Regions from separate parts of the Homo sapiens genome. Here regions 1, 3 and 4 are each linked to region 2. The links are contacts of gene promoters, found by promoter capture Hi-C in blood cells and fetal thymus (Javierre and others, 2016). All regions are on one chromosome and are shown on one strand. Each heading gives the region's core, a stretch centred on a gene start or on the middle of the fragment in contact. The rest is flanking DNA. Distances are from core to core; before and after follow the strand shown.

Evidence for each region. The method cuts DNA at HindIII sites, captures the fragments that hold promoters and counts their contacts. A CHiCAGO score of 5 or more calls a contact.
Region 1: a contact is called between a fragment that was not itself captured here and the fragment with the promoter of TSEN15 in region 2, in 2 of 17 cell types (M1 macrophages and megakaryocytes). The highest score is 5.3, in M1 macrophages.
Region 3: a fragment that was not itself captured here is called in contact with the fragment with the promoter of TSEN15 in region 2 in 3 of 17 cell types (erythroblasts, M2 macrophages and megakaryocytes); the score reaches 6.4 in erythroblasts.
Region 4: a fragment that was not itself captured here is called in contact with the fragment with the promoter of TSEN15 in region 2 in 1 of 17 cell types (erythroblasts); the score reaches 7.4 in erythroblasts.

What each region holds. Positions count from the first base shown.
Region 1 is chr1:184,640,748-184,646,499 of GRCh38, reverse strand. No RefSeq gene overlaps it. Among named protein-coding and RNA genes, the nearest start is that of EDEM3, 110 kb to the left of the region's middle. The HindIII fragment of the contact is 214 bases long and covers 2,612-2,825 here.
Region 2 is chr1:184,049,985-184,055,518 of GRCh38, reverse strand. It overlaps TSEN15 (tRNA splicing endonuclease subunit 15), which reads right to left and starts at 3,789. Exons shown (of 5, transcript NM_052965.4): 1 at 3,629-3,789; 2 at 1,084-1,165; 3 at 656-791. The coding sequence starts at 3,763. RefSeq lists enhancers at 3,710-4,004, 3,883-4,012, 4,073-4,182, 3,935-4,870. The HindIII fragment of the contact is 4,301 bases long and covers 354-4,654 here.
Region 3 is chr1:184,662,786-184,668,158 of GRCh38, reverse strand. It overlaps LOC105371648 (a long non-coding RNA gene), which reads right to left and starts at 3,817. Exons shown (of 3, transcript XR_007066768.1): 1 at 3,731-3,817; 2 at 2,558-2,890. The HindIII fragment of the contact is 4,662 bases long and covers 1,437-5,373 here.
Region 4 is chr1:184,692,270-184,697,468 of GRCh38, reverse strand. It overlaps EDEM3 (ER degradation enhancing alpha-mannosidase like protein 3), which reads left to right. Exons shown (of 20, transcript NM_025191.4): 20 at 2,997-5,199. The coding sequence ends at 3,406. Among named protein-coding and RNA genes, the nearest start is that of EDEM3, 60 kb to the left of the region's middle. The HindIII fragment of the contact is 275 bases long and covers 1,133-1,407 here.

The DNA of each region.
Region 1 (5,752 bases), core at 1,469-3,968, 590 kb before region 2:
CCAGAGTAAGCAGCAAAAAGACAGGCAGGGTTGCTTATGAAATCCTCTGCAAGTGAGGGAGGAGAGATCCTGCAAGAAAGAATGGGCTCAGAAAGTGTGATGGATTGCAGGGTTCTGGGTGGGGAGAGGAGAATCAAAGACCCTGGCTCTGAGACATTTCAGACCACATCTAGTCAAGTGCTAACAGAGTTAGCTGCAGTACCAGTGGCTGAGAGAAGTCTGGCCATTAGGTGACAACTGTGAGCAGTAAGCCCTCATGGTTCTCTGTGCCACTAATTTAATTAAAATAGAAATTGTAGGAGGGGCTTCCTGAATGAGGGAGCGTTTATCATGGGCTTTGAGGCATGGGGAAAGTGAGTGTTCTAGAAAAGCATGTCAGCTTCTTTAATGTTCCAAAAATATAGTGAAATCCAGTAAATTTTTTGTTTGTTTGTTTTGTTTTGTTTTTGTTTTTGTTTTTTTGAGATGGAGTCTGGCTCTGTCGCCCAGGCTGGAGTGCAGTGGCGCAATCTCGGCTCACTGCAACCTCTGCCTCCAGAGTTCAAGTGATTCTTCTGCCTCGGCCTCCTGAGTAGCTGGGACTACAGGCGTGCACCACCATGCTCGCCTAATTTTTGTATTTTTAGTAAAGACAGGGTTTCATAATGTTGGCCAGGATGGTCTTGATCTCCTGACTTCATGATCCACCCACCTCAGCCTCCCAAAGTGCTGGGATTACAGGCATGAGCCACTGCTCCCGACCTCCTATATATATATATATGTGTGTGTGTGTATATATATTTGTGTGTGTGTATATATATGTGTGTGTGTATATATATATGTGTATATATACGTGTGTGTATATATATGTGTGTGTATATATATGTGTGTGTATATATATGTGTATATACATATACACATATATATATATATATTTTTTTTTGAGACAGAGTCTCGCTCTGTTGCCCAGGCTAGAGTGCAGTGGCGTGATCTTGGCTCACTGCAAGCTCCGCCTCCCAGGTTCACGCCATTCTCCTGCCTCAGCCTCCCGAGTAGCTGGGACTACAGGCGCCTACCACCACACCCAGCTAATTTTTTGTATTTTTAGCAGAGACGCAGTTTTGCTGTGTTAGCCAGGATGGTCTCGATCTCTTGACCTCATGATCCACCCGCACTGGCGTCCCAAAATGCTGGGATTACAGGCATGAGCCACCGCACCTGGCCTCCAATAAATATTTTTATGAGTGAAAGAATACAAGAAGAAGTGGCTTGCTGGATATGGTTTGTACTAGACTATTTGGGAAAATGATCAGGAAGACAGTTGAGGTTCTTCTCAAGTTAGGTTTTGTTCACCATGTCAGACCTTAGCCACTCAAGCCCATCAAAGAAACCCATGATCTCTGAGGAACAGGGTTCCTCTGGAGGGGTGGCAGGGGGTTTGGGGAGAAGTTGAATCACTTGCTACCTGAGCCAGTGATCTAAGATATACCACGCAGGTGCTGCCTCCGCAACCCAGGATCCTACCAGCTGCAGAAGTCGCGAGTAATGCCAGCCGGGCTCCGAAGACTCCCTCAGCCCCCGGGGCCAGTGGACAGTGCCCACATCCTCTGTGGCCCTCTCGCAGCTGTAGAAGACAGGCACAGGTCTTCCGTTGTGTGCAGGTGAGTGGGGCTGTGGGCGTGGGCCTCAGACAGCTGACGGGTATGAGGGGAGGCAGGCTCCACCATCAAACAAAGGCTTGGTTGTGTTAGACGGTCCTTCAGGGAGTCAAACATTTAGATTATTGGGCTTGGATTAAGGAAAGGGCATTCTCTGCAAATAGCATAGGTGCCTGGAAGTCACAGTGCCAACTCAAGATGCTTGTGGGAGGCAAGATTGAAAGGTTCAGTGAGGCCAGTGGCCAGGGTCATGACATTATCAACAAGCCTTGGGAGCTGGGTGAGGGAGGGTTGGGGCTTGGTTCTGGGTCTGGGAGAAGGAGGCTTTGAATGTGGTTGGAGGAGAAGGGGAGATGGGATGATTATATCGAAGGGGAGCTAAACTGGAATTCAGACACTTGGATTTCATATTCTAGCATGCCCAACTAGCTGTTAACTATGAGTACATCATAGTCCTTCTTTGTGCCCTGTTTTCTGGATCTGTCCTGCTTCTGGCCAGGGTTTTTAGGGGTGCAGGAGCAGATGGATGTGCTCGGAAAAGGCACACAGTCCCACAGCACTGTGAATGGCTAATGGATCTGTGTTTCTGATTTCTCTGCACCTTACAAGGACATCATGGTGCTCAGTAAATATAAAATAACAACAGTAGTTTCAGGCTTACAGACACTAACCTGAAATATTCTCTACTAAAGTCAAGTGGGTTTCAGATAACCTTAAGGAGGAATGATTTCCCTTTCCATAGCTCCCAGGATCAATTCAAAATAATAAAATTTGGGGCCGAAGAACTAAAAATTGGGATGGATCTAAAGTACTTCATCTCAAATATCTCATTCTTCCAAAGAGGATGATCCAAATTACCCAATTCTGAATGAGACAAAAAAATTTACTTTGGGAAAGAGATTGGATTCCTTTGCTGAACTTACATCCAGTGTTTTTGAAATGACTAAGAACAAGAAAGATAAAATATCCAAGCTTACCTCATGAATTAATCAATCAAGGAAACAGACGTTTCCATTATCCAAGATAAGTTAGCAAGCCTTGAAATGTAAACTTCTGAGAAATACCAGACTGTCCTATTTGGAAGGGACTTTTAAAGATGAATTTAGCCCAGCATACTCACTTTACAGATGAAGAAACTGAGCCCCAGAGAAGAGGCTAGTGTAAGACAAAAAGTACATATACAAAGCTTACCTCCTCCTCTGCTGAATAAGGACAGCTGGACATGACTACAATGTGTCCCAACATGGCACCTGGCTGCTTGGGATGTGTGCATGGCTGATGTGGTGGGATCTGTGGTTTTATTTTTCCCCAGCATCTCTTGCATCTCTTCCTTCGGGGGAACACTCCTCTCTTTCTCTTGAGTCTGTCAGTCACAGTACTGTCCATCATGGGAAGGCACATGACCCAGGCTGGCCAATATTTGCAGAGATTGATCTGGAGTGGGCATATGATCAACCAGAACCAATCAAAATCCTCTCCTGGGCTTTTTTTTTTTTTTTTTTTTTTTTTGACAGAGTCTCACTCCGTCACCCAGGCTGGAGTGCACTGGTGTGATCTCGGCTCACTGCAACCTCTGCCTCCCAGGTTCAAGCGATTCTCATGCCTCATACTCCCAAGCAGCTGGGATTACAGGTGCACACCACCACACCTGGCTAATTTTTGTATTTTTAGTAGAGATGGGATTCCACCATATTGGCCAGGCTGGTCTAGAACTCCTGACCTCAACTGATCTGGTTGCCTCAGCCTCCCAAGATGTTGGGATTACAGGCTGAGCCACTACATCCTGCCCTCTCCTAGTATTTTTATTTGGATGTTATATGAGTGCTTCCAACACTGTGGGGGCCATGCAAACCTGTTCCCCTGGTTGCAAAGAGGAAGCTGTTTAGGTGGGAGAGAATGAGGTTACTTCAGAAGGAAGTAAACTCAAGATTAGAGAGAGATAGATATAAATACAGACATACACACATGTATACATAGAAACATAGATAAATAGCAAGAACCATCTCCGACACCTGCTTACTTTTTAGCTTGAGGAGTTTGAAGTTTCTGTTGCTTGCAAACAAAGATTGAGGTTAATATTGTGGAAATATGAAGTCCCTGTGACTTTGTTAATGATCTAAAGGAGATAAGCTGATGGTAGAAGGGAAAGAAGTGAGAAAAGCTAGGTTGTCCTCTGCCACTTTCCTGTAAATCTTCGATTAAACTCATTTTTCAGATAGAATGTTGGGCCACTTCCAACAAGCCACTGTTCCCTGGAAGCTCCACACTTCCTTCTGCCTTTGCAAATGCTATCCTCTGTGCTCTTGGGATTGCTTGCCCCTTTCCTTTTTTGTTTCATTTCTGGTTAACTCCTCTTCATCTTTCAAAGCATTGTGCAAGTCATTCATTCATTCATTCATTATTCATTCATTTTTTAGCAAGAATTTGTTGATTCAAAGGCTGTTCTAGGAGCTGGGGATATGACAAGGAAGATGACATTTATTTATTCGTTCAACAGATATATTGAATGCCTGGTATGTACAAGAGGAGGGAATCCACTGGTGAGTGAGCAAGACGAGGTCCCTATCCAGTGGGGGTTATTCTGTTGGGAGATAAAAGAATGATTCAGGAGTGGGATGTGTATTCTGCAACTTATCTCAATCTTCGTCAATAGCTATTTCTTGCATTTTTAAAGAAACCATGAGAAACGTGAGGAGAGAGACTGTGTCCTTCATCTCCTGTCTCCACAAGTGGCACAGGTCCAAGGAAAGGTGGCCTGGTTTGAGGTCAGCAGGGCTTCATTATTCATAGAGGTTGCTGCCCAGTTTTGGCAGGGAGGAGGGGCTGCTTATGGGAGGAGGGACTGGGCTTCCCAGAGGCCTGGTGGACTCCTCTCTAGCAGTGGGTGGGAAGAGGAATTTAATGAGCTTTTAAAGAAGACAATAAAGAAGATCCAAAGACCTGGCCATCTGGACTTCTGCTCTTAATGAGAAAGTAATCATGGCTCCAGAAAATAGCTGGTTAAACTTAGAAGAGAAGCCAAGTATGTTTAATTTCCATTGAAAACTGTTTGGTAGTCTCCATGGGCAAGGCTGTGACAGTCAGTGCCACTTAATGAGGCTGCCATGGGCTTCTCCAGCTCAGGGAGAAGGAAGTCAGGGGACCAGGGAGGTAGGTTCAGGGCAGGGAAAATGCTAGAGGCTCTGGGAGGTGATTCCCTGGGTGCAGAGACGCAGCCAAGACCCCTATGGTCAGGAGACCTATGGTGCCCTTAGAATCAGAGCTGAAGGAACTGTGGAGTTCATCTGGCCCAACCCCTTTATTAGATGAGAAACCCGAGGCCCATAGAGGTTAGACAGCCTGATCAAGGTCAGACAGCTAGGTGGTGACAAAGCCAGGAGTTAGCCCTGAGTTCTCCTGACTCAGCAGGAAGCCAAGCCCCCCTCAAGTAGGATATGGGAAACTTGGCTGCTACCCCACCATATACAGACATGTTTCAAGATTAGTATCTCGTCCTCCATCCTTTCTCTCTCCCTCCCAAGAAGAACTGAATGCCTGTATGCTCCAGGGACTGGGATAGGTGCTGAGGAGAGAGACGTCCAGGTATGGTTGCAGCTCTGAGGGGTTGGCTACAGGGGAGGAAGACATAATAACCGCTAGGCAATTGCAGTTTGGTGTGGTCACACAGGACACTTAATGACCTTTAAGTGCACAGGGCCCTCCTGGCTGAGCCTGGGAACTTCAGGGACCACCTTCTGGAGGACAGGATGCCTGTGCTGAGTCTTGAAGAATGAGAGGGATTCCAGCATGGGACAGGCTTTGAGAAGGCAAAGGAGATCCTGAGAATTTCATTTCAGGCAAGTGACTGGTGATGGTGTGAAGGGTGAATCTAAGAGGAGCAGAGGCTGGCAGGGGAGACCTGTGAGAAGGCAGTCATCTAAGGAAGAGATTATGAGGACATATGGTTGCAAGTAGTAGGCAGGAAGGAAAAGATTTAAGAATACATAAAAGGTAGAATTAGCAAACCTGCCAATTGGTGAAGAGGGGGAGTGAGGCAGAAGGAGGAGCCAGGCTGAGTCCTCAGGCTCTCCTTCCCCAGCCAGAGTCCTGATGGCTCCCTTCCACAGCTCCAGGCT
Region 2 (5,534 bases), core at 2,540-5,039:
CCAAGAATATAAATATTTCTACCATACATACTGTCTCTGAAAAAGTACTGACCATAGAGTAAGTGCTAAATAAATACTTGTTGAATGCTTGATATACTTTGTATATTTGTTCCTGCCCAAATCCCATGTTGAACTGTAATCCCCAATGTTGGAGGTGGGGCCTGGTGGGAGATGTTTGGGTTATAGGGGTAAATCCTTCATGGCTGAGTGCTGTCTTCAGGACAATGAGTTCTCGTGAGATCTGGTCATTTAAAAGTGTGTGGAACCTCCCCCTCAACACTCTCTCTCACTCCTGCTTTTGCCATATGATGTGCCTGCTCTTGCTTCACGAACTTCCTCCATGATTATAAGCTTCCTGAGGCCTCCCTAGAAGCCGAGTAGATGCCAGCACCATGCTTACTGTAAAGCCTTCAGAACTATGAGCCACTTAAACCTCTTCTTTTTTTTTTAAGAAATTACTCAGTCTCAGGTATTTCTTTATAGCAATGCAAGAATGGCCGAATACAACACTCATATTTAACTTATTCCTCAAATAGCCAAGAGTAAAGCTATGAACCCTGTATCCCAAATTTCATTAAAAGTATTACATCACTATGTTTAATGTTTCCTACTGCTTTACTCGGGAAAGGAACTTAGACCAAAATCACCTGCTCACCTGTTATGGCTGAGGGAAGCAGTGATGGGGGTAGGCACCACAGTCTGTAACCCCTCCCCTTCTATCTCAGTACCAACAAGGCAGATGAGCTGGAGTTCTGGTAATCCTACACAGTTTACTTCATGCCAGCTTTTGCCTGAAAGAGCATCATTGAATGGACAATAATGTTTATTAAATACAAAAAATAAAAACTCCAAACTTCTACCTAATACTCAGCTGAGCAAATATCACTCGTAACACTACCTCCTGTCTTTGCTTTTCTAGTAGCTTCTGTTACTCAGTAATTCCCAATGTAAATAAATAAATTGCAAAATTAACAGCAAATGCATAAAAGATTGCTTATTATGTTAAGAATGCTATATCCCAATCCAACCCCCCAAATCTCTACCACAGTCCCAATAACAAAACAATATAAACAAACAACTTACTTTCCATGAGGTCCAGGTAAACCAAGAACGCTACATAAACTTGGGTGGCATCTCCTATATCTAATTCCATCATTTCTAGATACTGAAAATTAAAATATAATTGTCAAATTGAGAAGAAAAAATTATTTAATATTTTCTTCCAATCATCAAGTGGTCATCAAGCATATATAATCTATAAAATTCTTCTAGGTATAGTGGAAGTTAAAAGGCAATATAAGATCTTATCTCTGTCTCTAAAGAACTTGCAATTGTTAAATACATGCACACTTAAAATTGTTAGGCAAATAACAATATATGACTGTAAGTGATTAAAAACCATGTAAATGGAATAAAAAACATGACACAGCAGGTCAGAAGAGCTCTACTCAGAGGGACTGGTGAAAGATTTATAGCAGAGGTGGGATGGGATACAAGTTGAGCACTGAAGAACATTATGATTTAAGTAAGTGGAGAAGTAGAGTAATACTGCAGGTAATTACACAAAGGTGGGATTAAGCCACATACATTCAAGGGCCTGTAAAGAAACCTATCTGCCAGCAATAGAGAAACCTTTTTAATAAAACTTGTGATGGGACATGTTAGTGGGTACTGTGTATTTCCCTAGCCTCTTATTTGTATATGGAGAGAATCTGCTAGAGTATCAGTCCTAGCCTCTCTACCCACTCTTTCTCACTTTAAGAGTAGATTTTTTAAAAGGAATTGACAAGGAACTAGAGAAAGCTGCTTCTTTCAGACTACTGGTCAGCATAAGGGGAATACTTTTCAGGGGCCTACACCTGCAGGAGAATTCTGAGGCTGCCCAGCTATGCCAGCGACTAGGTGGATATGCAGGGCTAATGCTGAGTTGAATTATTAGCAGACCTGCATGGGGACAGGTCTAAAGTCACATTCTCCCATCAGCTTCACTGTAACTGTACAGGTTCAGGAGGACAGGGGTTAATTAGTTGTCGACTTCAAACATGTTTTGAAAATAACACCCAAAACATAATTTTGAGCCAGGTTACAAGGCTTTGGTGGTCAAGCTAAACATGTGATTTTATCAGTATGGAAACACTGAGGATTTCTAAGCAGGAGAATAATAAAATAAAAGTGTGTTTGGGGATAATAAATCTGGTACCATTTTACTGGATGAAACTACATAATTTTTAAATTAACAGAAAGGTGAAATTGGAAAAACAAATACCCCCTATTATTTTATTACTTGTTCTTTTTCTTTTAAAAATTAATTTGATCCTTCAAGAAGAGAAATCAAAAGGGGAGATTTGATGGTCAAGGTGTATACAGCCATTAACTTGAAAAAGAAAACAATCTACAAGTATATAAACTGAATAACACCACCAAATCTAGATAAAGTCTTAAAAAGTTGTTACTGGTGTTTCGCTTATTAAGTACTTATATAGTGCTTTCTGTATGTTGAATGGCTTACAAATATTCATTAATTTAATCCTGTAACAACCGTATAAGTAAGTATGGACTATTAATATCCCCATTTTTCAGGTGAGGAAACTAAGGCATAATAAGATCAAGCAACTTGTCCCAAATCACAAGGTTGATAAGTGACAGAATCAGGATTTAAACTGAGTCTGATTTTGAGTTCATGCGCCTAACCAATATGCTGCCTCTCCATGCTATTGTTTCCCTAAAAGGGCACTAAATAATATTTCCATGCTATTGTTTCTTTTTCTCACCTTTTGGGAGGATGAAGGGGACAGAGTAGGAAGATAAAATTAAGCAAGAGAAGCTGAAAAAGGTTAACTCTTCAAACTTATACCTTCAAATTTTTTCTTGGCTGTTTTTAGATGATTATGAATTATTGCTCTCTAGCAGAAGAGTGCAATTCTGTTAAAGTACCGTAGAGACTAGTTTTTGAGATTCTTACAAAACCCACATCTCCATTCACTGTCTATTCACTGCTTGGAACCGTACTTGTACAAGGCAGTAATGTCTCAAGCAGAAGTAAGCAGAGGACTATCTTGATCTCGCCTGCTGCTAATCTAGAAAAATACACGCAAAATGTGAGTAGCTCTGCTTTGAGCAAGAACCTATTCAAACTTTCGAAGAAATCTGAAATATTAGGAATCTGCACCTTTTCAAAATAAAGATGCATTCTGGGCCCAAGGCTAAGTGTAAACGTGACTGTGCTTAAATCTTTATCACTATGGACCCCTAGATCTTATCCATCGCCCACAAATTGTCTTGCATGGTTACCGTGAGGATTAAATAAATTTATCCCCCAAAGGGGATTTACCTAGACAGCAAAACTAGTGGAGCGCTTATTAGGGATCTCCGGCTTGAGAGGGGCGGAGTTACTGTCTGGCTCTCAGTTCCAAAATGGCTTTGGCTGGGGGATTGAGATAGTGCAACTTGTTTAAACAAACAAAACCGATGCTGCCTGAGGCTGGCAGTTGTGCACACCGGTCCCCCTCGGTGAGGGTGGCGCGCGTCCTCAGTCTCCCACTGAGGAAGAAAGAAAGAGAGCTGCCTGGGAGTGTTCTGCCTGGGTTAGGGGCCTGGACGGCGCCCTGCTCCTCTCGCGCCTCCTGACCTTAGGGTGAGTGCCCATCCAGGCGTCCTCAGGGGCCCACGAAGGAGCTCCACCGCCGTCGCCAAAGCCGCGAACACCGCCCGGACCCAGGCCGCTGCAGCCGGGGGTCGGCTCGGAATCGCCGCGCTCCTCCATGCCGGCCGGTGCGGCGCTCCCGTGGTGCACCACGACCCGCGCCCGGCCAGAAGCAGCGGCGCGCGCGCCTGTGGGTTCCGCTTCCCCGAGGCTCGCAGCTGCAGTGCGAGAGGGCTCAGAAACTGGGAGGAAAGTTGCATCAGCCCCTCCTTCTGACCAAGGTAGCTAGAACCTGCGCGAACGCTCTCTAGTTTCGCTCTGCGTTTATTCAAATCTGAGCAAATTCTAACGTGAAAAATATTAAAGAGTAGCCTGCGCCCTGAAGCTCTTAATCCTCTTTAAGTCAGTGCTGCCGATAACTCTCTGAGAAAGTTGGGGGATACATACGTCCTCTTTGCCTTCAGCAGTGGGGTCCTGGTTTCTGATTGCTGGGGACGGGAAAGGCCTTACTCAGTGCCCTGACATAGAACTTTAAAGTAGAACCATACTTTCAGGGTGGACCCACGTTTCAGGATTAGAGGAAACACGAGTTGCTGAACGAGTGTTCAGAAAGGTAGGATACAAACTAGCATAAGCATGTGATCTGGAAGCCAAGGATGAGGAGTTTCAAACAGGCAGAGTAGCACATTTTAAGTATTTTTTAATTTACTGTGAGTGAAATGGGAAGCTATTGGAGGCTCCTGGACGTTTTCATAGGATCACTCTGACTGATATGTTGAGGATAGACTGGAGGGAGCAAGGACACAAACAGAGACTGGTTAGGAGGCTATCGCATTGACCAGGACAAGGGTGACTCAAAATCCAAAGTCCCAGGCAGGACATAACTTCTGTTTTCAACCATGATAGACTAAGACCCTAGTGGACCATCCCCCAGCAGAAAACAATTTGGACACAATGCAAAAAGCTGAATATACTGGAATGTGAATAGTGGACTGGTAGGAAGGGCAAGCTTGCTTGAAGATCAGGAACTACACTTGGACACAATACAAAAAGCTGAATATACTGGAATGTGAACAGCAGACTGGTAGGAAGGGCAAGCTTGCTTGAAGATCAAGAACTCCACAAGAAAATTCTCCTCTCTTTGGCATTTAGCTTGGGGCAAAGTGCAGTCCAGAAGTCAGGCTCAGCAGTACCAGGGATGCATGTATAAAACTTATCAGTTATTCTTGTCTGGGGAAGCAGAAAAGTGAAGACAGAAAATTTTGAATTCTGAAGAGATTAAGAAATCCCAAGGAAGGAGTCAGAGAGTGGATCCCCAAACTGTCAACCCACATCTCTGAGAGATCCTGAACCACCCAAAACAGAATCACAGCAGCTCAGTTAAAAACAAAAGATCTGAACTGAGACCAGAGCTGTCTCCAAAAGGGAGAGAGTTTTCAGTTAAAATCTAGCCGGGAAAATTACCTACTAATACAAAGGAAATAACACTCATCAGAGAAGAATAATAGAATCCAGACTCTCCACTTAACACTCACAAAGTCCAGAGTACTATCCAAAACTATCTGACATATGAAATTCAAGGAAATGGATCGCATACTCTAGAGATCAACCCTGAGATGAATCAGATATTGAAACTGACAGATAAGGATTTTAAAGTGACTATTATAACTATCCTCAATGAAGTAAAACATGTTTTCAATGAATGAAAATCTCAGGAGACAAATAGAAAATCTCAGCAAAGAAAAAGAAAAAAAAAGATTTTTAAAACCAAATGGAAATTCTGAAAATTGAAAATTATAATTTTAGAAATAAAAAATTCACTGGGTGAATTTAACAGCCAAAAAAAATTACAAAAGAAAAAGTAGGGAACTTGAAGATAGAGCAATAGAAA
Region 3 (5,373 bases), core at 2,518-5,017, 610 kb before region 2:
AGATACAAAGTTTTTGTTTGGTTTTGAGATGGGGTCTCTGTCACCCAGGTTGGAGTACAGTAGTAGTGTGATCCGGGGTCACTGCAACTTCTGCCTCCCAGGCTCAAGCAGTCCTCCCACCTCAGCCCCTGGAGTAGCTGGGACCACAGGGCTTGCAGATACAAAGTTTAAAAAGGGAAAATACAAAGTAAAAATATCAAGGCTTCAGTGAGCCATGACCCATGGTGCCACTGCACTCCAGCCTGGGTGACCGTGTGAGACCCTGTCTCAGACAACAACAACCAACGGCAGCAACAAAGTAAAAATAATAGTAGTATGAAAATCCCAGTTTAAATAATGGTATTGAGCCATACACTGAGGCTTAAAGATAAACAATTGAAGACATCAAATGATGAGAGAGAATTAAGTGAGAGCTGTTATTACCATGTGGCCTGTTTTCCTATTTAACCAATGGATATTAAAGGATCTCTTAGTCAAGTTTCCAGCAGGAGCTACTGATTATGAAATTTCAATTACATTATTATCTTGCCAAGTGAAAAAGTAGGCATTAAAAGGGGTAAGAGTCTCATGATGTGGAGTCTTTCGATGTCTTAAGAAAAGCATGAAAACATCAACTCTCCTGGTTTGCAGTCTGAACATCTCTGGTCATGACATTAGGCAGCATGATGGATTTCTTGTTTGGCCCATACATCAGGTATGAGACTTGTTCCTTTCTATCTTATTTCACTAGTATTAAAGAAAAAAAAACACTTGACAAATAGGGTTGGGGAAGGCTATGAAGAGTGGGTTCGCTTGCTTGTGTACCTGATAACAAAAAATATCACAAAAGACTGTAAAAACCACAACCTTGCATGAAGGCCACACAATCTTATACACACACACACACACACACACACACACACACACACAAATACTTCTGTAAAGACATCTGCCCAGTAATTGCTTGTCCAACCTTGTACTGGCATCACCCTTTCTATTGATCTTTGTAGCAAGGATAATTATCTCCAAACAATTATGTAATCCATCTCATTTTTCCTTTAAAAATTTTTGTCTTTCTTTACCTCTCTTAGTATGCACATAGTTTACTATGGCACACATATTTCCATTGCAATGCCTTACTCCTGAGTACATATCATTTTTATTTTAGAGAGCCCCTCTTCTGTTTGTTATTTAAGTTGACAAGTGCTGAGATTGAAGAGCTGACAAAAGAAAGATGTTAGTCTGAATTTGAACTTTCAAGTTCATATTCAACCAATTCAGGCCTGGTTACGTATGTCCCAAAACCTTACCTCATTCACCATTGTAATGGCCAAACCATGAGTCTCCCATAAATAGTGGAGTCTTTTGGATCCAGTAAGAAGTTTATATAAGATTTGAAGCTGATAAATCCTAAAGTGACCTCTTCCAAAATCTATTAATTCATGGCCTCTGAAGCTTAGCCAAAATCTTTGTTACTATTACTTCCCCTACCAGGAACATGTGGATACAGCCTACATTGACCCAGACATGAAACAGATAGAACTACTCATTCATTCGACACATATTTGTGAGTTATATCCCAGGCACTTTTCGAGGTCCTGGGGAAATAACAATGAACTAAGTAAAGTTCTAGACTCCATATAGCCTCTCTTCCAATTTAAATCAACAATTAATCGATAGAGGCTAGAGAGAAGCCAAATGGGATCAGAAATGGTGCTTTAAAAGACATTCATTCAGCAAAAAATCACCCAGAAGTTTAGATAATCTCTTTTGCATCTCATCTCAACCACTCAATCCCAGGTGTGGCCACAAATAGGCCTAGCACAAGTATAACAAGTGTTAAAGGGAGAGGGACATTATTTATCTGAACCTACAACTTTATCTTAGATAAAGATGGATTAATTATAATATAATGCTGACACCAATTGCAGTGAAAAAATTTCCCCCAGAGAGTCCCCCATTTGCAGGTACTGTTTATTAATAGATTGTCTATGGAGGAGGGATTTTAGCTGTAAAATTTGCAAATAAGACATTTCCCAGGGAGTGTTTCAGATTGGAAGTTTCCAGCAGTTAGTGTCTAACCATGCAAGTGGAATAGAGAGGTCTCTAAACTAAAACTGAGAAAGTATTCTTTGGGCGTTGGCCAGTAGAAGTTCACTGGTGACATAGGAAAGAACAGTTTCAGCCAAGAGCTGGAAGGAATGATACCAACATTGTCTTTGTCTTTGGTGGATTTCTAAGTCCCCAAATGGAAGTTGATGATAATCTACGGTTCTCCTTTGTGAAATGTCTCAGCAACTTGAAAGAAAGAATCTCTACATAAATCTAGCACTCTGTTGTTGCTTAGTCACTGTCAACCTGTTTTATTTTGTTGGTTTGAGTTACCTTAATGTTTCCTCGTTATAAATAGATAAGTTCAACCGACATCAAGATCTCTGACTGCAGTAGGATTCTGTGGGGAATCTGGAAGCACTACCATTTAGCACATTACTAAGACGTAACACATGCCCCATCCCCTGTCAGACCTCTGATTTGTGCATCGAATCCCCAGAATCCCCAGAACAATAATAGACTTTACTTTGTGATTCCTCTGGTGACACATTTCTTTTAGTTCTTCTGGCAGAGCTGGAGACTCGCACGACAAATTCACTCTGACGTTGTTTTCTAATTAGGTGCCTTGACACAGCAGGCATTCCAGTCTCCAACATTTCTTTTGTTTCTCTAATGTGCCAGAAAGCTGTCTGCTTTTTAGCTGCCTGACCTTTCAGAAATGTTACCTGCCCTGTAAAATGAGATAACACATGGAAGGCACCTGGCTCAGTCCGTGGCACCTGAGAGATTCTTGAGAAGTGTTCATTCCATTGCCCTGTTTCCTCTCTCCGCCTTCATACCTTCTGGTGCTTTAGTGAACCTCAAAGATAAAAATATTCCCGTTGTAAGGTTTACATTTTTCTTCATCCCAAAATAGAACTCAGTAACTCTATAAGCAGATACTATATGGATTCCACATTTCATTTCCTCTTATTCTCACAGGGTACCTTACAAGTTAGAAATTTGTATTGTCTCTGCTTTTTGGAGAAAGGAATCTTAACTTTTCTCAAGTAACCGAGGTTGCAGAGTGGGTCAATAAGGAACGTGGGACAAGAACCCGCATGCGCCTCTCTCCAAAAGTCTTCATCCTCAACCCCTGCACCAGACTGTCTTCCACACATGGGCTCTGAGCGGCCAGCACTGGATCTGGAGAAGCCACCACCCTGTCCTGTCCTCCAGGCAGAACGGAAGTGTGCCTGACCCCAGCTGTAAGCACCCGCCCTCTGTGGCCCGGAAAGAATCCAGTCGCAGGGCTTGGCCCTTCCCCATCCCCTCCTCTGGGCAGCCCGCGTTGAGTCCCATCTGGAACGTGGAGGAAGAAGGCCCTGTAGCAAACGCACAGCTAGACCCCCTCCCTCCCTGCCAGGCCTCCCTCGCCAACTCCATGCCCAATTTCAGCCCTGAGGGGCGAGAACAGCAGGTGCTCGGGCCGCCTTCGCCCTTGGTGTTCTGGGAGCCCATTGTCTAATTTTGCTCGGGCCTGGCCTGCTTCCTTTTTAGTCCTGCGCATGTGGGCAGAGTACAAGCTAATTGGCAGGGCTGTTCCAAATCCTAAAGAACGCGCGCGCTGCCTGCTCGCCAGCGGGAGGGCCGTGTGCCCAGCTTGCGCCCTGACATTTTCCGAGGCCTGGGCGAGGCCACCTGCCTGACGAAGGCTTACCAGGGAAAATCAGGTCCTGACAGCCTGACAGGGACAACCGCCCAGAGGATTCATCTGCTCGCGATGCCTGGTCAGCAAGGAGGAGACTCGACCTGGGACGAGGAAGAGGCCTTGAAGGGACAGAGGAGAGCGCATCCTCCATCCCCCGGCCAGGGAGAAGTCACGCGGACCCCCAGGTTGCTGGGCCGCGATGGGGGGAAGAGGAGACCACCCCCAGCTCCGCAGCGAGCGCCCTCACTTCGGGGAGACAGAGGCGTCGATCCCTCCTGCGGACGGCTGGGGGCGCTGCGCTTCAACCGAAGGCAGAGATCCTGGACCGGGGCGAGGCAAGCCCTCCCGGAGGAGAGGAGCTCTGAAGGGGGAAAACAGCTCTGCAGAGTGTAGAGGAGCCGGACTTTGCAGCCAGGTACCTCTGTGCAAGTCTCAGCTGTGCCTCTGAAGTAGCTAGCCGTTGCCCAGCACTGTGCTAAGGTCTTTTCATCACTGTGTAATTGAAGGCTCACAGCCACCCTTTAAGGAAAACGATCTTGTCGTCATTATTTTATAAGAAATGGAATGGAAGCTCAGTGCCACCCCTAGCCCATGGACACATTCCCAGAGAGCGGCAGTGTGTCTGGCCTGGAACTTAATGAATTCTGTCGGACAGAAGTCCATGCTCTTAACCATTAGGCCTCCCATACAAAGATACTTTGTACGGGGACATGAGACACAGCCTAATAGCACAGAAACTCACAGAGGACGAGTTTCTTAGTTTTGTCATCTCTGAAATGGGAATAATAATATTACTCCCACCTTGCAAGGCTTTGGGAAAGATTAGAGAGAATGTAAAAAGGTCCATGTGAGAGGTCCTCGTGGGTTAATGTGTGGGGGGAGTCCCCAGTCCCTCCCCGGGCACTCAGAGCGATGTGGGAAGACTGTGGAGCCCATGCTTATTGATGCTGTTTCATTTCAATTAAACCTCCGTCAGAAACATCGCATGACATCAAAATGGAAGAGATGTTGAGTCTGAACGGTGAGGTCATAGATTTTGTTTTTATTTATGTATTTTCCAAATAAAAATATGTATCATGTTTTCTCATCATAATTGTAATATGTGATGATGTATCAATTATGGAAAATACAGAAACTGTAAAAGAGGAAATGAGGAAAACCTTTGCTTCTCACTGTTACAGATAACTACTGTTCAAAATTATAGATAACAACTCTGGAGGCTGAGGTAGGAGGACTGCTTGAGCCCAAGAGTTCGAGGCTGCAGTGAACTATGATTGCACCATTGCACTCCAGTCTGGGTGACCAGCAAGATCCTGTCTCTAAAAAAAATAAAAATAATAAAAATTTTAAAAATATTTAATTAAAAAATTATAATGAATAATAATTTATTGTATATTTTAAAACAACTACAAGGAAAGAATTATAATGTTCATGACACAAAAAAAGATAAATGTTTGAGGTGACAGACATCCCAATTACCCTGACTTGATCATTACATGTTGTATACATGTATCAAAATATCACATGTACCCCAAAAATATATATAACCATGATATATCAATTAAAACATACTAAAAAAGAGCGATAACTACTCACTTTTCCTTTACTTAGAGTGTTTCATTAATACATTTACTGTTTTACAGAATTGGTAT
Region 4 (5,199 bases), core at 21-2,520, 640 kb before region 2:
TTTTATTATCTGATAGGGCAACTCTCCCCTCACTGATTCTTAGAATTTCTTGGCTTCTCTTTGACATATGCTGTTCCATAGAAACTTTAAATTAATTGTATCTGGTTCTAAAACGAAAACAAGAAGTACAAATGAGATTCATTTTGAAATTATATAATTGCATACTTTACATATAAATTAGGAAAATGTTAAATATTAAGACTTCATTTAAGAATATACCTATAAATTTAATCAAATCTTGTTTTATGTTCTCATTATGATTTTATTTAAGCAACGTGGGTCTTATACCTTTTATAATAAATTTAATTCTATGTTTTGTAGCTTTTTATTATGAAAAGGTTTAATGATTATATTTTAACTATTTATTGTTACTACAAAGGAGTTATTGGTATTTGCATAGTCTTCTTACCAAATTTTTTTTATCAATTCTAATAGTATTTTTTTATTAAAGTTGCTTTGACAGTGTACGATCACAATCTGAAAATACAAATAATTTGATCTTTTTCTATATTTACATTGATTATTCTACTTTCTTGTCCGATTACATCAGCTAGATTTCCAAAATAATATCGTATATGTAACCCTAGGAGAGTTTTTTATCACAAGCACAATCTTCATTACCAGGTAAAACAACCCTACACCTTTTCCTCTCCTTCTAATCTGGAATAATACAATCTAGAAAGAAACTTGGAGATTTTTCTTTTTGTTCTCTCTTGAATTTAGGGAACCTAGGATAAATAAGCTGTAAGTAGCCAGCTACCTTCTTTCTTTGGTCTGCACCATTGGTTTCCCTAATTGCCTAATTAAATTGTACCTTTTTCACAGCTTAGAAGACAGAGATTGTGTGGAATTCCTCAATCCACCCCCTGCTGATCCTCCCCTCCGGAAAAAAAACCCTAAGAATGTAAACTTTCAGAGTCAAGTAATCCCATCTAATCAGGGTGAACATATATGCATTGTAGGGGCAGAAAGGGGTGATCCTTTCCTCCCCATCATAAAGGGTTACAGCGGACACCCCGGGTTAAAAAAAAACAAAAACAGGTTAACAACAGAAAAGCATAATAATTTTATTATGTGTACGTGTGTGCACAGGAGCCATACAAAATATGAAAGGGGACAGGTGGTTGAAGCTTAAATACCCTCTTCTTAGGGTAGAGGAATACTAGGGAATGAAGAGGTCCAGTGCTTAGACAATGATTGGTAAAGGATTCTCTTTGCATAGTATCTAGATAAAGTCCCCCAGTTAATCTCTCAGCTGTCCTCAGAAGAACAGAAGAAAAGTCTGTTTGGGTGTGGTGAGGACCCCTGTCTCTACTCTTCTCTGATGGCTCATTTTTTTTCTCGTTATTTGATGAGAGTCCTAGGGAGGGATTCTTGAGACAATTGCATTTCATTTGGAAAGAAGCTTCCTTAGATAAGAAAATTCCAGAGAGAATCCCCCCAGTTGCTTCAGGAAAGAGGATCAGAGAGACAGGGAGGCAGGGGAAGGTCAGAGACAGACTGGTTCTGAGGCTTATTTCTGAGACCTTTCAGTTTTCCAAGCATTCATCATGCTGAAGCACCATATTTTGGGGAATTGTTTTCTGTGCCCCAGCAATACCCACCACACCTTCCTGCATGTCTACATTTCCTTTGTTTTTTCTGGTTTTTAAATAAATCCTCTTCCCTCCCTTCTTTGACATTATCTTATACTTTAAACCCCAGCTCAAGTGTCACTTTCTGAAGGAACTTTTTGAAGAAACTTCTCAAATCTCCTTACAGTTCTCCCTCTGTATCTGTGGGTTCTGCACCCATGGATTCAACCAACTGTGGATAGGAAATATTCAAGAAGAAAAAAGCATCTGTATTGAACATACAGAGATTTTTTTTCTTGTCATTATTCTCCAAACAATACAGTATACCAATGATTTGCATAACATTTACGTTGTATTAGGTATTATAAAGTAATCAAGAGATGATTTAAAGTACATGGGAGGATGTGTGTCAGTTATATGCAAATACTGTGTCATTTTACATAAGGGACTTGAGCATCCAAAATCCTTATCTCTCTTTCATAACGTGTCACAGTTGAGTTTTCTATTTATTTTCCGTGATTATTTGTATAATATCTTTTTCTCCCGTTGGACTATAAGACCCATAAGGGCAGGTATAGCATTTGGTATTGCTCCTCATTTTATCCCTAGCACTATGCAAATGATGACTTGGAGGATATTTGCTGGCCAACTGCATCACAGAGGCAGAGACTGAACAGGATGTAGCATGTAGGCGTCGATGCTATTTAAGCACTTTCTTGTAGGAACCCTAAATAAAATGCCTCTACTGGTTTCACTGTATATTCATTATAAGAGGTTTAACTCACTCTTCAGCCTTCCAGTGGATTTTAAAATGACTATATCTTATAATTCATAGGCCTAAAATAATAGAATTTTATGAATAATCTCAGTTCTTGTCTTGTGAAAGTATTTCTGATCAGTCACATTAATACCCTTAGTCATTCAAAAAAATCTATGTTATCTGCTTCTTTATGACTTACTGAGTAGGAATTTCACTTTTCAAAGGAATATTATTTGAAAATATAGCAATGATATATGCTGTTTAAAATTGATTCTGTTTAATATGTTCTTATGCATAAGCTTTAGGTATCTAATACATTTTAGCCATACATTGCAAATCTCTATATATTTTAATATTATTATTGGTTAGCGTACTTCTTGGCTTACTAATGTCCACTGATGTCAGTCTTAGTTATTGTCATTCCTTCCAATTTGGAAGAACGTTTATTTTCTAACACTGACACATTTTGCACAGTGAATCTATAGGAAAATGTGACTGCATAAAGACAGTCTTCATTTCAGTGCTGATGCTCACCTTTCTGCATTAACATGAGTCTCTTTCACGTTTTATTTCATCTTGTTGCAAAAACCAATATGCTTTGGAAAGTGTAATAGTACATTTTTTTAGAGAAGTAGCATGAGGTTTGTTTCTTTCTCATACAGATCCTGAAATGGAAAATGAAGAACAACCATCCTCTGAAAATGATTCTCAGAATCAGAGTGGTGAACAGATTTCATCAAGTTCTCAGGAGGTTGATTTGGTTGATCAAGAGTCTTCTGAGGAAAATTCTCTAAATTCTCACCCAGAATCATTATCTCTAGCAGATATGGACAATGCTGCAAGCATTTCCCCTTCTGAACAGACTTCTAATCCCACAGAAAACCATGAGACTACAAATCTTAATGGTGAATGTACAGATTTAGATAACCAGCTTCAAGAACAATCAGAAACTGAGGAAGATTCCAATCCTAATGTTAGCTGGGGTAAAAAGGTCCAGCCTATAGACTCCATATTAGCAGACTGGAATGAAGATATAGAAGCATTTGAAATGATGGAGAAGGATGAGCTATGACTTGCTAAACAATCTGTTGGTAGGTATTTAAAAAGAAAAGGTAAACTGTGTGTGGTTAATAGACATCCTAATACTAAGCAGGCTTTCTAATGGGAGGCTTTAAGTATGGTGATGAACAACCACGTTCTGACTGGCGTAGTTATCGTAGGAATCTGGAGCATGCTGTGTTAGAATTGACCTTGTTTAAAACTGTCCCATCAAAAATGGAAATCCACAGTTCCCCCTTCAAATGCAGCACTGCACCACCCTGCAACACCTCAGGCCAGGGAAAGATTACTGAGCATTCCTGCGAACCAGATTTCTGTTGTCTCTGGATAGACAAGAAACAAAATTCATTTAGTAGTGGAGTGGGGAATAGGAGTTTGGATAGCCTTCTAATTAAAGGAAGCTCGCCTTTCTTGGTTTTGGGGGTTAGAGGCTCTTTTGGGAAGATGCATCCGAGTATTGTGGCATTCTGATTATGCTGCCTTCACAAAACACTCTAAGTGACCTAAGTGGTTATGAAGCAAATGCATTTATGGTGAAAACAGTCTTTGCTCATTGCTTTCTCTTGTTTCATTTAGTGACAAATGATCAAGATGACTTGATTTTTTTTCCTTCTTAACAATGTCTTTTTTATTTAAACCAAAGGTGAAGCCAGTGTACTTTCTCAGTGAGTTCTCTGCATAAAGACTAATCAGTGGGACCAGGTAAAAAGGTCATATAATACATTGTGGAGATTGCTTACTTAATACTTCTGAAAAATGGAGTAAGGGAGAAACTGTAATGTTGCAATATGAACCTCCCATTGGGCCTTCCATAGGGAAAGCTGTGACTACTCTGAAATGGAACCTAGCATTATATCCTTGTAGGGTAGATTATAAATCATTTCCAGTTCATTTCTCTTAGAGGTGATTACCTCTAGCCATCAGCCTTACTCCATCCCATGTTTGGTATGCAATTTGAGCCACAAGGCTCGTATCGCCAACAGCTATATACATTTTGTTCCATTTTTCTGTCTTACAGAGCCATGATAGAACTGTGGTTAGTGAGTTAAAATTCCTGGAGTAACTACTGTTTTTCTCCTTTGAAACTTAGGTTTCTAAAGTTGCACCTAAGGAATCTGTCACATTTTCTGTTGAATCATGGTTTTTGTTTTTGTTTTTAACAGATATTCCTTCTGATACGGACTTGAAAATTAGTGTATGGTGACCTGTGTTTAAAAAAAAAAGTACAATACAACTACATATAGCTATATAGCTTAATGAGACTTCCACCCCCCCCCTTTTTTTTTTTGGTTTGTTGTTGTTGTAGTAGTCTGGTGCTGGCCACATTTAAGTCTTAAAAATTTTTAAATTTTGTTGTTGATGTTTGTAGACAGCCCTGTTGTTGAAATCATGGCTTTATTCATTTTATTTATTTTTTAAACTTGCCTGAATTTGTTCTAAAGGAATATTTAAGAGACATAATTTTCTTCTCTTTACCATAACATTACACAAAACTTTTTCCTAAAACACGGTTGTGAGGTACTGATGAGGTGTAAGTGGAGCTGTTAAAAACAGCAGTGCTGTATTGCAGTTATGTATATTCGTGTACAGTATGTTTAGATCCCAGGTAAACATATTCTTTTCTGAGAGGATAAATACCTGCATTCAGATATTCCAGGTAAATATAATTGAGTCAGGGAGTAGTAAATCTGATGGAGAATTCACTTTGGGGAGGGGAAAAAGAATAGTATGCAAGACCCTTATTGGCTTTTAATTATACCTGAAACCAAAATGGATATTTTTAGTCTCTCTGCATGTGAGATTTGG